3 separate regions of the Homo sapiens genome follow, and all the other regions are linked to region 2. Evidence: promoter capture Hi-C in 16 types of primary human blood cells and fetal thymus (Javierre and others, 2016). All regions are on one chromosome and are shown on one strand. Each heading gives the region's core, a stretch centred on a gene start or on the middle of the fragment in contact. The rest is flanking DNA. Distances are from core to core; before and after follow the strand shown. Region 1 holds the start of LOC101928553 (a long non-coding RNA gene). Region 2 holds the start of EPC2 (enhancer of polycomb 2). Region 3 overlaps KIF5C (kinesin family member 5C).

Evidence for each region. The method cuts DNA at HindIII sites, captures the fragments that hold promoters and counts their contacts. A CHiCAGO score of 5 or more calls a contact.
Region 1: a fragment that was not itself captured here is called in contact with the fragment with the promoter of EPC2 in region 2 in 4 of 17 cell types (naive CD4 T cells, total B cells, M2 macrophages and 1 more); the score reaches 5.7 in naive CD4 T cells.
Region 3: a fragment that was not itself captured here is called in contact with the fragment with the promoter of EPC2 in region 2 in 3 of 17 cell types (M2 macrophages, total B cells and megakaryocytes); the score reaches 7.6 in M2 macrophages.

What each region holds. Positions count from the first base shown.
Region 1 is chr2:148,925,141-148,929,373 of GRCh38, reverse strand. KIF5C (kinesin family member 5C) reads right to left here. Exons shown (of 26, transcript NM_004522.3): 3 at 20-93. LOC101928553 (a long non-coding RNA gene) reads left to right here and starts at 2,125. Exons shown (of 2, transcript NR_187659.1): 1 at 2,125-2,585. RefSeq lists an enhancer at 2,751-3,375. The HindIII fragment of the contact is 2,420 bases long and covers 1,604-4,023 here.
Region 2 is chr2:148,642,015-148,646,436 of GRCh38, reverse strand. It overlaps EPC2 (enhancer of polycomb 2), which reads right to left and starts at 1,686. Exons shown (of 14, transcript NM_015630.4): 1 at 1,267-1,686. The coding sequence starts at 1,419. RefSeq lists enhancers at 363-512, 1,109-1,613 and silencers at 603-692, 1,453-2,032. The HindIII fragment of the contact is 14,369 bases long and covers 1-3,382 here.
Region 3 is chr2:148,944,458-148,948,524 of GRCh38, reverse strand. KIF5C (kinesin family member 5C) reads right to left here. Exons shown (of 26, transcript NM_004522.3): 8 at 1,502-1,626. Among named protein-coding and RNA genes, the nearest start is that of KIF5C-AS1, 51 kb to the right of the region's middle. The HindIII fragment of the contact is 1,237 bases long and covers 2,066-3,302 here.

The DNA.
Region 1 (4,233 bases), core at 1,564-4,063, 280 kb before region 2:
GAGCACATTGTAATCTTACCTCCATGGTGTGGGTTTTTCCTGATGAAGTCTGCCCATACGCAAAAATCGTCCCGTTATAACCTTCAAGGACATCTGTGAACAAGAAAAAGAAATTAAAATTAACTCATTACTTTGATCATATGCTGGTGTAGGTTGCATATTTTAAAATTACATTTTCCAAATGGCCCATCTCATTTTTCATACAAATGATATATTTCAACTCCATGTGAATTTTAAGTAGAAAATTCTGTTGTTCTACAAATGGAAAGAAATGGACTCACATTTCACAGAATACATTAATGAAGAAGGAGGCAGACACACTTTCTCCCAATGACATCAAAAGGAAGATAGAGACATCGAGCAGAAAACTTTTTTTTAGTAGAAGGATATTTGAGTTTTCTTCTATAAGTTGATCTCTTGAGATCAGTTGGGGGAAAAAGAAAACATTATTCTTATGCCCTGTTTCTGGAGTGAGATGAAGAACAGAATTTCTTTCCTGAAGATTTAATCTGGGTCAGTTTAAACGCTGGCCCAGGCTAGCTCCTTGGGGAGGTTTCTCCTGAAAGCCCCACAAGAGCTCCTTGAGTCCAGAGGTGGGGGAGGAAAAGGGCCCCACTCTATAAACAGAGCCTCAGGATGACAATCCAATCAGCCCAGAAACTAGCCGGGCCCTCACTTAAATTTAATGTCTCTGTGTTTGCACTGATAGTGCTAACAAGCCAGCCCAGGCCCATCAGCATCAGGAAATTTCTTTTAATTACACAATGAGAGCACTGTGCAAACCCCTCCACACTGCAGGTCGGTGCCACATCACACAGGGACAAGGGGAGGCTCGAGGGTGGAGGCTGCTTTTTGCTGAAGAGCTGAAGATTATCTGTGGGAATTCTTTCAAAGCAGCAGAGGTGATTAAAATATATTTAGCACTCATTTCTCTCCTGCTTTCCTCCTTCATCCTCACAAATATCACTGGAAGAGGAACAATGCATCATTAATATCCTTGATCCTCCATTCCGAATAAGGGGAGGAAGTCTTCATTTGCACAAGCTGTAGAGGCAGGGAGAAGGACCCCACACTGAGGTGTCCTATTCAGGGTCATGTAAAAAACCAAGCCAGGCAATCAGCTCCATCTACTTCAGGCTCTAAATAGAGTTTTTCTTTTGGGAGCATGGTAGAGGGGGTTCTCTGAATTTTATGATGCTGGTTTGTTTTTGTTTTGCTTTGATAGGTTTGCTTTTTTGAATTTTTTTTCTATATCAATTCTGATTTGTTATGTTTTTTAAAAAAATTTTAATAAACATTTGACTGATCTGAGGTTGTTGAAGTGTGAACTGGGATAAGAACAAAAAAGCAATATGTTATTTTAGGAAGGTAAGAAAAGAAAAATTAAGTGGCAGGATTTTTTTTTAATTCTAGCAGCCCTCAAGAGTTTGTATCAAGCTATATTGGGGGTTGGTGGGAGAGGAGGGACAGGGAGAGAGAGGAGGGGGAGCAAGAGGAGGGAGAGAGAATGTTCATACATATCAGATTTCGGCTAATGGCTCCCCTGCTAACAGTGGGAAGCAAAAACTTGAAGTAGTCAGTGTAAGGTTTGGAGGTTCAAGCTTCAGTTTTCACAAAAATGCCAACTTACTCCAAGAAAAGATTCCTTAGGCCAGAGCAGACAGAGCACCTCTACACTAACATGAATATGATATGCTTTGAGGGACCCAAAGGAAAAAGGTCCCACCCTTAGGTCAAACTTTAAAAATGCCATATTCATAACACAAAAAACTCCAGCCTATTGGAATGCTGGCTACATCACAATATCACAGTTTCCATTTATTCGAAATTACCATTTATTAGAAATTAACCATCCCCCCTATACACACACACACACACACACACACACCCTGAAAGGGCTTTCCTTGTCTTAAGCCTCTGTGTATGAAACACTCTGGAACCCACCGGCCTAGGTGTTAGAACAGCACCGAAGTTGCCAGGGCCAGGGGTCCAGCCATCCTGACCTCTGCTAGCCACCCTGCAAGGGCCGATGTTCCCACGCAGGAGGCCCCAGGGAGGTGGTACTGAGCAACCGGCCACACCCAAGGAAACAGCTCAGAGCTCAACTTCCTCCTGAATTAGGCCACACCCGAGGCCTCCCGGGTCTCATCCACGCCTCTGGGTCCATCACTAAACAGAAGGCACAATCCCACTAACTCTTACTCCATCGCTGCTCATGAAACTCCTGCCAGTAAGGACTGGGTCAAGCACCTGAAAACCAGAGCTCGTCCGTGGCTTCACTTGTTTTGGACTAAGGAGCTGAGGAGCGTGCAAGACTGTACTTGGAGAATCTGTTTCTTGCTGCCATTTCGTCACTGAACACTATTTTTTTTCTCCTTCTTTTTTTGTAAGAAAAGGAGAACACATAAAACCCCACCAGAACAAACTCCACTCGGCCCTGAAAGTATTTACAATCACGGCCCTGAAAGTACTGAAAGTATTTACAATCACGTTACAGTTCATTCACTGCTGCAGAACCTCTCTCCAGCGATCAAGGTCGAAGGGAGCCGACGTCGCCCTCTATCGGCTCCCTGCTGCACTAGAAGGTAATTTAAACGAAAAGGCCCTTTGAAGCCAGTGTTCTCTATTTTCTTCGAAACTCCAGGTTTTGGGGGCTTCTTTTCTGTTTGTTGTTTGTTTGCTCAGTCTATGTTTTGATTTGCTGGTGAGGGAAGGCAGAGAGAGGAAGTGGAGCAGGAGCCCAGCGCGTTTCTATGGCCACCGCGACCACAGGCAGAGGGGGAGCCGTAGCAGGAAAGGCCAGGCCGCGCTCCGCACTGCGGGGGCCACGCCAACCTCCATCCGACTCCCACAGAAGCGCCCACAAAAGGCACTTTCATCACGTCCAGTGCCCGCTCCTGGGCCCACGGAATGCATTTGTTTTAGAGTCTCTGCAGAAACAATGTTTCCACATGCCAGCCACGCTCCGCAGACAGAAAGTTTCTTTGTGTTAGTGCCTGGTGTGATGTGACCTCCACTGGTACAGCATAGCCCGCCGCACCCCGGGGCCACAGCACTCTTCCATCCCGCAGCCGCATGAACCCCAGAAGGAGCTTCCACTGCAGGTGCCCAGAGCCTTCTCATCTCCCAGGGGAGGAGGAAGGATAGCAGTAGATACTTAAAATGCTCCTTGCCTCCCATTTGCTCAGTTCTGAATCCAGGTCTTGCTAAAGCAAAAGAGTTAGTGCCATCTTCAGATTAGAATTGGGGGAGGATGTGATCATACCTACCCATCAGTAGTCCTACGGAGGCATGGGGCTTCCTACCGACTCTCCAGGGGAAATGGGGGCCTGTAGGGTTTCTGGTGATGGTGGCTGACAGGCCATCCTCACCAGTCACCAAACCACTCAGGTAGGCCATAATCAGAGGATGATGAGGCGGTCCTGCTGACTACCTGAGGCCAGCCCGCATGCCGGCTGGCCAGCCTAAAGGGCAGTCCCTGTGCCCAGGCAAGGGCATGCTGCATCTTCAGAATGGAAACGCACCTCATCACTGGCAGGCCACCAGGGCCATCACAAGGTGTAGGAGCCACCATCCCTGTCCCCTCTTCTCTACCCTCCTCCCACACCATTCCTAGCCCTGTCTTTTGCAATGCTTAGATAATAGTCCATATGGCCTGACAGAACAGGGACCACTCATAAAATAATTGTCATCAAATGCTAGCTGTGTGCCCACCAGGAAAGGGGGGCAGGGGAGTACAGAAGAATATCAGTCAGTCAGTCTGACAAGCCCAGGCTTGAGTCCCAGTCCATGGCCCCCGAACCAACCTGGCCAAGTTACTTCACTTCTCTGAGCCTCAAATTCCTCTTCTGTACAATGAGGAAAATAATGCTCACCCTTCAGAAAGTTGTTATGATTTAAAATGCAACAACATATGTCAAGTATATAGACAGTGCCTGATAAGTCACAGCTAAAAATATTTTTTTTCTTCAGAGTCATATATAAGATAATAACAAAACAGATCTGATAATGTCATCCTAAGCTTAACACTCTTCATTGGGTCCACATTGTCTGCAGGATAAAGTCCATCCATTGCCATCAAATTGCTCCAGCCTAAATGTCCCAGCCTCATCTCCCATAATGCCACTCTGCACCCTGTGCCGCTCCAAGTTGTCCAAGCAGAATTTGTGTGTTTATGCTTTTACTTTTGAAATCCCCTCTGCTTGTACAACCCTCCTATATTCTATAGTCCTC
Region 2 (4,422 bases), core at 437-2,936:
CATCCCGATGCTACGGCCATATGCATTTTCTACTGAAAATGTAAGACTTTCAAGTAACTATACATCAAAGAGAAATGTGATTAAATAAGAGCAAAGTAGTATTAACAGGGTAACATAATGAGGTCAGAACTCAACCAGCCAATCGAAGGCATAAAAGCATTTCCTGCAATATTAATAGTCAAAAGAGAAAACCAATCACTGAAACCTCGAGCTTCCTTTTGACAGTCACTGAAGCAAGAGAACCAATCCACACACACCCGAGGTTGACAATAAGGCGGGACTGTAGGTTCATTGAAGAAATTCTTGAGGGTGCAGTTACTATGAACTTCGCACGCAAGTAACACCACTCGAGTCATAAACACTCTCTGTCAAGCCAGATGAAATCCAACCGTCTGCAAAATTTAACCCATCGGAGGAAAAGCAGCAATTTTCCCAAAAGGTGCTGTATTATCAAAATTACAACTGCCAATTTAGATGCACTAGGTCCTCAACTTCTAAGGACCACCTCGCAATGACAATTCTCGAGGACAACGCAACGCCGGCGGCTCGCTTCCGGGCATCCCCGGCTCCTCTCTAACGTTGCGCACGGAGCACGGCCGTCCAGGCGGAGCAGGCAGAGCCCGTCCGCCCCGCGCCCGGCTCGGGTCGGCAGAACTGGCCGGCGGGCGGCCCTCGGACGCTACGACCCGCTCGGTAGTCGTGGCCCCCGCCCTCCCCCGCCGCAGTGCTGCACCGCCTCATCCCGCTGCACCTTCGCGGGCGGGGGAGCCAGGATGATTACATTGCTGGGAGGAAGATGTTTGTTTTGAAAGCACCCTTCCACAGTCATTTCAAAGAGAACTCAATACAAAGCCAAAGTTAAAAGTGGAAAAAATAATAATCTTGCCTAGCCAAATAATACCACGCCATTAATTAGCCCCGCGCCTGAGAGAGGGAGGTGGAAAGGTAAACAGAGACCGTACGCCAAGAGCGGCCAGCGCATCCCCTGCGCCATTCCCGGCCGCCGCTTACGGCAAGGCCCCCTTACGGCAGCGTAAGCAGCGCTGCGAGCTAATCACAACACTGGGACGCAACAACATGGCGGCCGCGGGCGGGCGCTACGCCGGCCGAGAGGGTTTACGCTACTCCGCCGGCGTAGAGTCCCGTGCGTTAGAGCGGCAGCGGCGCCCTCCAGCGAGCGTAAAGCGCTCTGTGAATGGCGAGGCCCGACTGACAAAGGGGAGGGGGGAGGAGGGAAGGGGGGGTAATAAACACTCGAGTCCCTACCGATTCCTCCTCCTTCTCCATCCCGGTGGGCATCTGGGGCACGGCCCGGTTGATGGAGACGCAGTCGTTGAGATCAGGCATGTCCTTGCCGCGGTAGATAGGCAGCGGCTTGGCGGCGTCCAGCGCCCGCGCTCGGAAGGAGAGTTTACTCATTGTCTCCCCGCCTTACAGGAACAGCCCGGGCGGCGGCGGCGGGGCGGGCGGGGAGGGGGGGAGGACTCCCGCCGCCTCCTCCACCTCCTTCCTCAGTGCAGCGCGGCCGGCCCGCTCCTCCTCCTCCTCACTGCCCCCGGCCACAGCATGGGCGCCCACCCCGCCCGAAAACAGCCCCCCGCGCCCGCGGCCGCCTCCACACACTAGATCCGCCGCTCGCCCGCCCGATCCGCTCCCTGCGCCATGGCCAACATGGCGGACATTACCACAGCGGCGGCGAGCGATCCCGGCAGCCCGCGCGAGAGCGCGCCCCCGTCGCGGGAACGCGCCTCGCCCTCTCCCTCCCTCCCTCCTTCCTCTCCCTTCCCCTCCCTCGCCTGCCCACCCACTCTCTCCGCGGCGCTGCCGGCCCGCGGGAGCGTGCTCGGTCTCGGTCCGCTCCGGGGAGAGGGGGCGGGGGCGGCGCCCCTCCGCTCGCTGGCCGGTGCTTTCGCTGTGTGGCAGGTGCCAGGTGCGCAAGTTCGCCCGCGCCCGGGAGCGTGCGCCTCTCCCGCCGCCGCCCGGTCACCCCTCTCGCTGGGTGTCCCGGAGGAAGGCGCCGGGCAAAGACGGCTGCGCCGAGCAGCGCGTGTGTGCAGAAGTCCGGGAGCGGGAAGGGAAAATGTCGACCCGGACCCCACCAGCCATCACCCAAGCCTGTACTTGGACAGCGCTATCCCCAAGGCGCCCTGTGCGCAAGCTAATTCGCATCCTCCGAGGCGCACATCCCCGAGAGGTGCAAGAGGTCTCTCCCATCAGTCCCATCAGTCCGTTCGGAGGACTGGACCGCGCTGCTGGTGCCAGCCCTCTTCTACGCCCTCCCCTCCGTACCTGTCCGAAAGAGCTCTCCAAGGTGCAGCAGCGCGTTCATCCTCGCTTTGCAGTGAGGGTTCATGGTTTGAGGCTGCCAGATGCAACAAGTGAACTTAGGTTCCCTGTCACCCAAACTTCGGTACAGCTGTTTAGTGGATGGTAGGTATTTTTCTGAGTTCAAAAATAGTAGCTTTCCTAAAAGTTCAGCTTCTAAAAATTTAGCCAAGGCAGCACACATTTGCGAAGTAGCAGATGTGTGTCAAATGTGGGGTGCTGTGGAAGACTCGAAGAAATCTGAGAAAAGGTTCCTGCCTCAGAGAGCTTTCACCTTAATGGGATGCCAGGATGGCTGGAAAGATGAGTAACAGAGACGTAAATAGTTGAAGAAAATGACAGCTGGAAAGATAAGTGACAACCGAAAAAAAAGTGTAAATATTTTAAGAAAACAATACAAGAGATGACACAGGCAGTAAGTAGCACATGATTAATTACCAAACGAGATCTAGGCAATAATTGTGAGAGTTCAGAGAAAGGAAAGGAGGCATGACTGCAGCCTAAACTGGTTAGAGAAAGTTCTCAAGAGGAGGGAAAATCAAGGTGACTCAAATAAGTACTAGCTATTGTTGACATCAACCTGGTTTAGCCAAGAGGCTCTTGGTTAGTCTTTAAGCATTACACATTTCTCACAAAACCGTACAAAGAGAGTTTTTAACACATTTTACCATTTTCTAATAATCGATCATACTCTAACTCAGAGAAAGTCAGATGATTTCCTAAAGACCAACAGTGAAAAAATTGATTCCTACTGTCATTTCTATGTGACAATAAAACTATATCTCTTCCTCTATTACGTCCTTCTTCCCCTCCTCCACTTCCTCCCCTCCCCCTTTTTCCTCCTGTTCCTCTTCCCCTTTTCTCTCTGCAGTCTCCTCCTTTGAAGGCAGAATGGTGGATATAGTCTTCATGGTAGTGTCCAAATAGTCTAACCAGTCTGTCGCAGCAAAACTCCGAGTATTGTTTAGTGGGGCTTGAGTGTTTTTCATCCACTTTGTTGTTGGAAGCAATGGAGTTGCTGTGACTCATTTCTTGTAAGCAGTACCTTCCTCAAGCTTATGGGCATGTCCTGCTCTCTAAGTGCTACCCCTGGAACAGTTCCAATCCTCTGGAAGCAAGAACAAGAAGTTCTTGGGAGGGGGTCAGCACTGGGTTCAAGCCTGAAAGGGAAGAAAAAAGCAATAGTTGAAGAAATGAGTCATCCAGAGCTTTCATCTGGATGCCCAGCCCTCCTCAGGTTCAGAAAGGATAGCTTTCTTCTAGTCCCTATGTTTAGTTTTACTGTTTCTCTCAGAAAAGGAAATATCAAGTATGTGTAATATACCATCCATTGTAGTAACATGTTATATATATTATCTCAACTAGTTGAATTCCACTTAATTCTTATTATAATTTTATGAAAAAATATAATTTTACCAATAAGAAAACTGAGCATCAGATAATTTGCCAAATTTCAATTCCAACAACTTGCAGAACTGGGCTCAAATTCAGGTCTGACCTGACTCCAAAACTCTGGTTTTCTCAGTGGTGCTACCCTGCTATCCAAGCTCTTCAGCTTATTGACCAGTCAGCATTCTAAAGCTGCTAATTCAAAATTAGTTACTAAGACCTTCCAACCAACGGCCAAGGGAGCGCATAAGCCAGAGCCTAAAGTTGCAGTAGACCAAGGAGGGCAGGAACAACATCTGTCTGTCAATCACTGTATCCCCAGTTCCATGCCTCACATATGGCAGGCATCTAAAGTATATTTGTTGACTGATATTCCATGAAGAAATTCACTGATACTGACCCCATGCCACTCTAGTTTATAGTTCACATACCTCACTGGCCTGTCACCTGACCTAGCTATTGCTGCCAATATTTGTTCTTACTGTGGCCTACCCTGTTGTCCAGCTTTGTACCTTTGTGCATAGAGATTTTAGAACCAATTAATGTTATTCAAAAACACCTTTTTGAAACCTGGAATTTATAGGAAGGGATTTTTGCTGTTGTGGTTGTTTCTTTGTTGTTCTTTTACTTTGACCATGTAAAAGATTTCTTCCCCAAATCTCCATTTTCTTCTCACCCTGTAGGCAATGATTATAGAGCTGGGAATAA
Region 3 (4,067 bases), core at 1,435-3,934, 300 kb before region 2:
CCACTGACACTGTGCAGAGGCAGGCCTCCACTCCAGTCTGTCAGTATTAAGCAGTTTTCAGGTGTATTTAGGCTCTAAATAACAATAATCCTCCATTATTTCCATCTGTTGTACGTCTGTTTAACTAAAGTTACAAGCCCGTACTAGTAAATTTTTTTTTTTTTTTTTGAGACAGAGTCTCCCTCTGTCACCCAGGCTGGAGTGCAGTGGCACGATCTCGGCTCACTGCAAGCTCCGCCTCCCGGGTTCACGCCATTCTCCTGCCTCAGCCTCCCGAGTAGCTGGGACTACAGGTGCCCGCCACCATGCCTGGCTAATTTTTTTTTTTTTTTTTAATTTTTAGTTGAGACACGGTTTCACCATGTTAGCCAGGATGGTCTCGATCTCCTGACCTCATGATCCGCCCACCTCGGCCTCCCAAAGTGCTGGGATTACAGGCGTGAGCCACTGCACCCGGCCCCATACTAGTAAAATTTTAGATTCCCAACTAGAAATACCCGGATGACTTTCTGCTCAGGTTTTACAAATGCATACTAGAGGACAATCCAAGTAACCATTACTCACGTGGATGTAAGTGGCCATAACTTGGCATACGGGAACTCAGTGATGTAGTGCAATAAGTGGGGATCAATCATACAGTTAGGGAGACTGACCAAGCTTCAAGGCTGGCCTTCATGGGGACAATCAGCATGATGTCAGTGATGATGGAGGCCAGAGGGCATTGTGCACATGGCCTTGCTCTATGATGTTGCTCGAGGGAGGTCAGTGCCTCCAGACAGGGTGTGGCAGCAGAAGCCTCCACTGGTGCTATGGAAGTGAGACTGGAGATTCTGGGAAGCCTATTGCTCTGGAGTACAGCCCCAGCCAGGGCCTGGGAGGGCATGGGTCAGGGTGTAGACGACAAAAGAGAATCCGGACAAAACCAGAGAACAGTAAAGGCTTGCCGCTGAGGCTGATTACAGGCCACACTTCATGAGAGAGCCAAGGCCTTCCACATGGGACACCGTCAGCCCATGCCTACTGCTGGGAGAACCAGGGAATGCAGGGAGCGCCCCAGGTTCCAGACCTTCTATCAGCAAAACAAACCTGCAGAGGCAGGACTGCCACATTCCAATGGCAAAGCTCGTTCCTGGCCTATTAGAGTCGGGTACAACATGGGATTTTCTCTTTTCTCAGAAGTTCATATCCCTCCCACATGTGTGCAGCTGCCTCTGCCACAGGCTAAGTCAAACCAACTGTTGCCTCATATCATCATAAGGGCCCATCAGGGATAAATCAGAGTTGGCATGCAAAGCACCTGCCTGTGACACCAATAGGAGACCTCAGGACCAGAAAAGAAAGCAGGGACAAAGGGTTAAATGTAATAACACCTTGGCAGAGCCTCAGAAACTTTAAAAGCTCTTTAAAGCAGGAAAATAGAAAAGCATAAAAATTATACCATTGCACAATGAAGCAAATAAAAGGGGAAAATTATAGATAATACAAATAAAGAACAAATTACCTTTTCGCTCCCAGCCAAATCAACCAAATAAAGTTTCCCACTGAGTTTTTTTTCAGTCTCTACATTCTCTTGTTTAATATTTATCAGGAAGATACTGTGACTTCTAGAGCTGTGTTCATTCATGTCTGAAAAGGAAAATAGTTTACTGCTCTACAAAGAACATGTAGGTTTAGGTAGCAATCCTCTCATTTAAAAAGCATAACAAGTCATGCCTAATAGATCCATTTCATTGAAGTAAGTCCAGTCAATTCTAAAAATTATCTGAGACCCCTGTTTCTTCTGAAAAACAATGCTCATTCTAGAAATACAAGATTTTAAATGTCTTCAAGGAGCAAAGAAGTTAATCTAAAAATCTTAGTCAACAGTTTAAGATATCAGATTTTCTAGCTCTACCTGAAGCCCCATCCTCTAAATTCCTACTCCAGCATGACTTTCCCCTTGAAGAATTCACTACCTCCTCCCCTGCCTCACTTTAAATTCCTCAGACTTCATCATGATTAATACATGATGTAGTCTATCTTAGTCATGTGCATAAGCCTTGCCTTATCAGTAATATCATAAGCTTTCTTAAGCAAGGATTAAGACTTTCCTAAGGAAGGATTAAGACATACACTTCTACAACCTATGCTAACAGCAAAGAAGGTTTCAAAAATTAAATATGCTTCATTAAGATGGGGTACTGGAAATAAAAATCCTTGCAAATCCTCGTCTTTGTCTGCCAAGCAGACAGAGACCCCAGCAACCATCCCATTCAGCCTTCACCAGCAATCATTTCTCAAAACCATCTTACCAGATTATATGTAAAAAGCCCTAAAGATTCATTTTTAAAAAACTGTTAGAACTAATAATTAATTCAGCAAAGCTGTAGGATACAAAATCAACATGTAAAAAATCAGTTGCATTTCTATATACTAACAATGAACAACCCAAAAAATTAAGAAAACAACCTTATTTATAATAGCAAAAAAAGAATAAACTACTTAGGAATAAACTTAACCAAAGAAGAGAAAGACTTGTACACTGGAAACTACAAAACATGACTGAAAGATATGAAAGAAGACACAAATAAAGGGATTGATTGAAAGACTTAATATCATTAAGCTGTCAGTATTACCCAAAGCAATCTACAGATTCATGGCAATCTCTATCAAAATTTCAATGACATATTTTATAGAAGCAGAAAAATCCATCCTAAAATTTATATGAAATCTCAAGGGATACCAAATAGCCTAAACAATCTTGAAAAATAAGAACAGAGTTGAAGGTCTCACACTTCAACAATATAATGGACTTTGGGGACTTGAGGGGAAGGGTGGGAGTAGGGTGAGGGATAAGAGACTACAAATAGGGTGCAGTGCATACAGTTCGGGTGATAGGTGCACCAAAACCTCACAAATTAGCACTAAAGAACTTACTCATGTAACCAAATACCACCTGTACCCCAATAGCCTATGGAAAAATAAAAAATAAAAGTTACTACAAAGCTACAGGAATCAAAACAGTGTGGTATTGACATAAAGACAGACATATAAATCAACAGAAGAGAATAAAGGGCCCAGAAATAAATCCTCACATATATGGTTGAATAATTTTCAACAAGAGTGTCAAGACCATTTAATGTGGAAAGAACAGTCTTTTCAACAAATAGTGTTGGAAAAACTGGATAGCTACATGCAAAAAATATATTAATGTTGGGCCCTTACCTTAGAGTACATGCAAAAATTTACTCCAAAAGGATCAAATACCTACATATAAAAACTAAAACTATAAAACTCTTAGAAGAAAACACAGGAGAAAAGCTTCATGACATTGGACTTGGCAATAATTTCTTGGATATGACACCCAAAGCACAAGCAACAAAATAAAAATAGACACTTCATCAAAATTAAAAACTTTTATATCAAAAGACACTATCAATAGTGTAAAAAAGCAATCCATGGAATAGAAGAAAATTTTATAAATCATATATCTAATAAGGGATTGATGTCCAGAATACATAGAGAACTCCAAGTCAACAACAACAAATTAACCTGATTAAAAAATAAATACAGACCTTGAATAGACATTCCTCAAAGAAGATATACAAATGGCCTATAAGCACATGAAAAGATGCTGAACATCACTAATCATTAGGGAAATGCAAATCAAAACCACAATGAAACAGCACTTCACACCATTTGGATGGCTATTATAAAAATAATAACAATAACAAGTGGCAAGGATATAGAGAAATGGAAACTCTGATGTACTGCTGTTAGGAATAGAAAATGGTACAGCTGCTATAGAAAATCGTAATAATAGCAAATAGTAGCGGTTCCTCAAGAAATTGAAAGTAGAATTACCATGAGATCCGAAAATTCCACTTCTGCATATATACTCAAAAGAATTGAAATCAAGGACTCAAATAGATGTTTGCACACCTATGTTCATAACAGCATTATTCACAACTGCCAAAATGTGGAAGCCACCCAAGCGTCCATTAATGGTTAAACGAATTTTTTAAATGTTGTATATACATACAATGGAATATTGTTCAGCCTTAAAAAGGAAGGACACTTGCTACCAC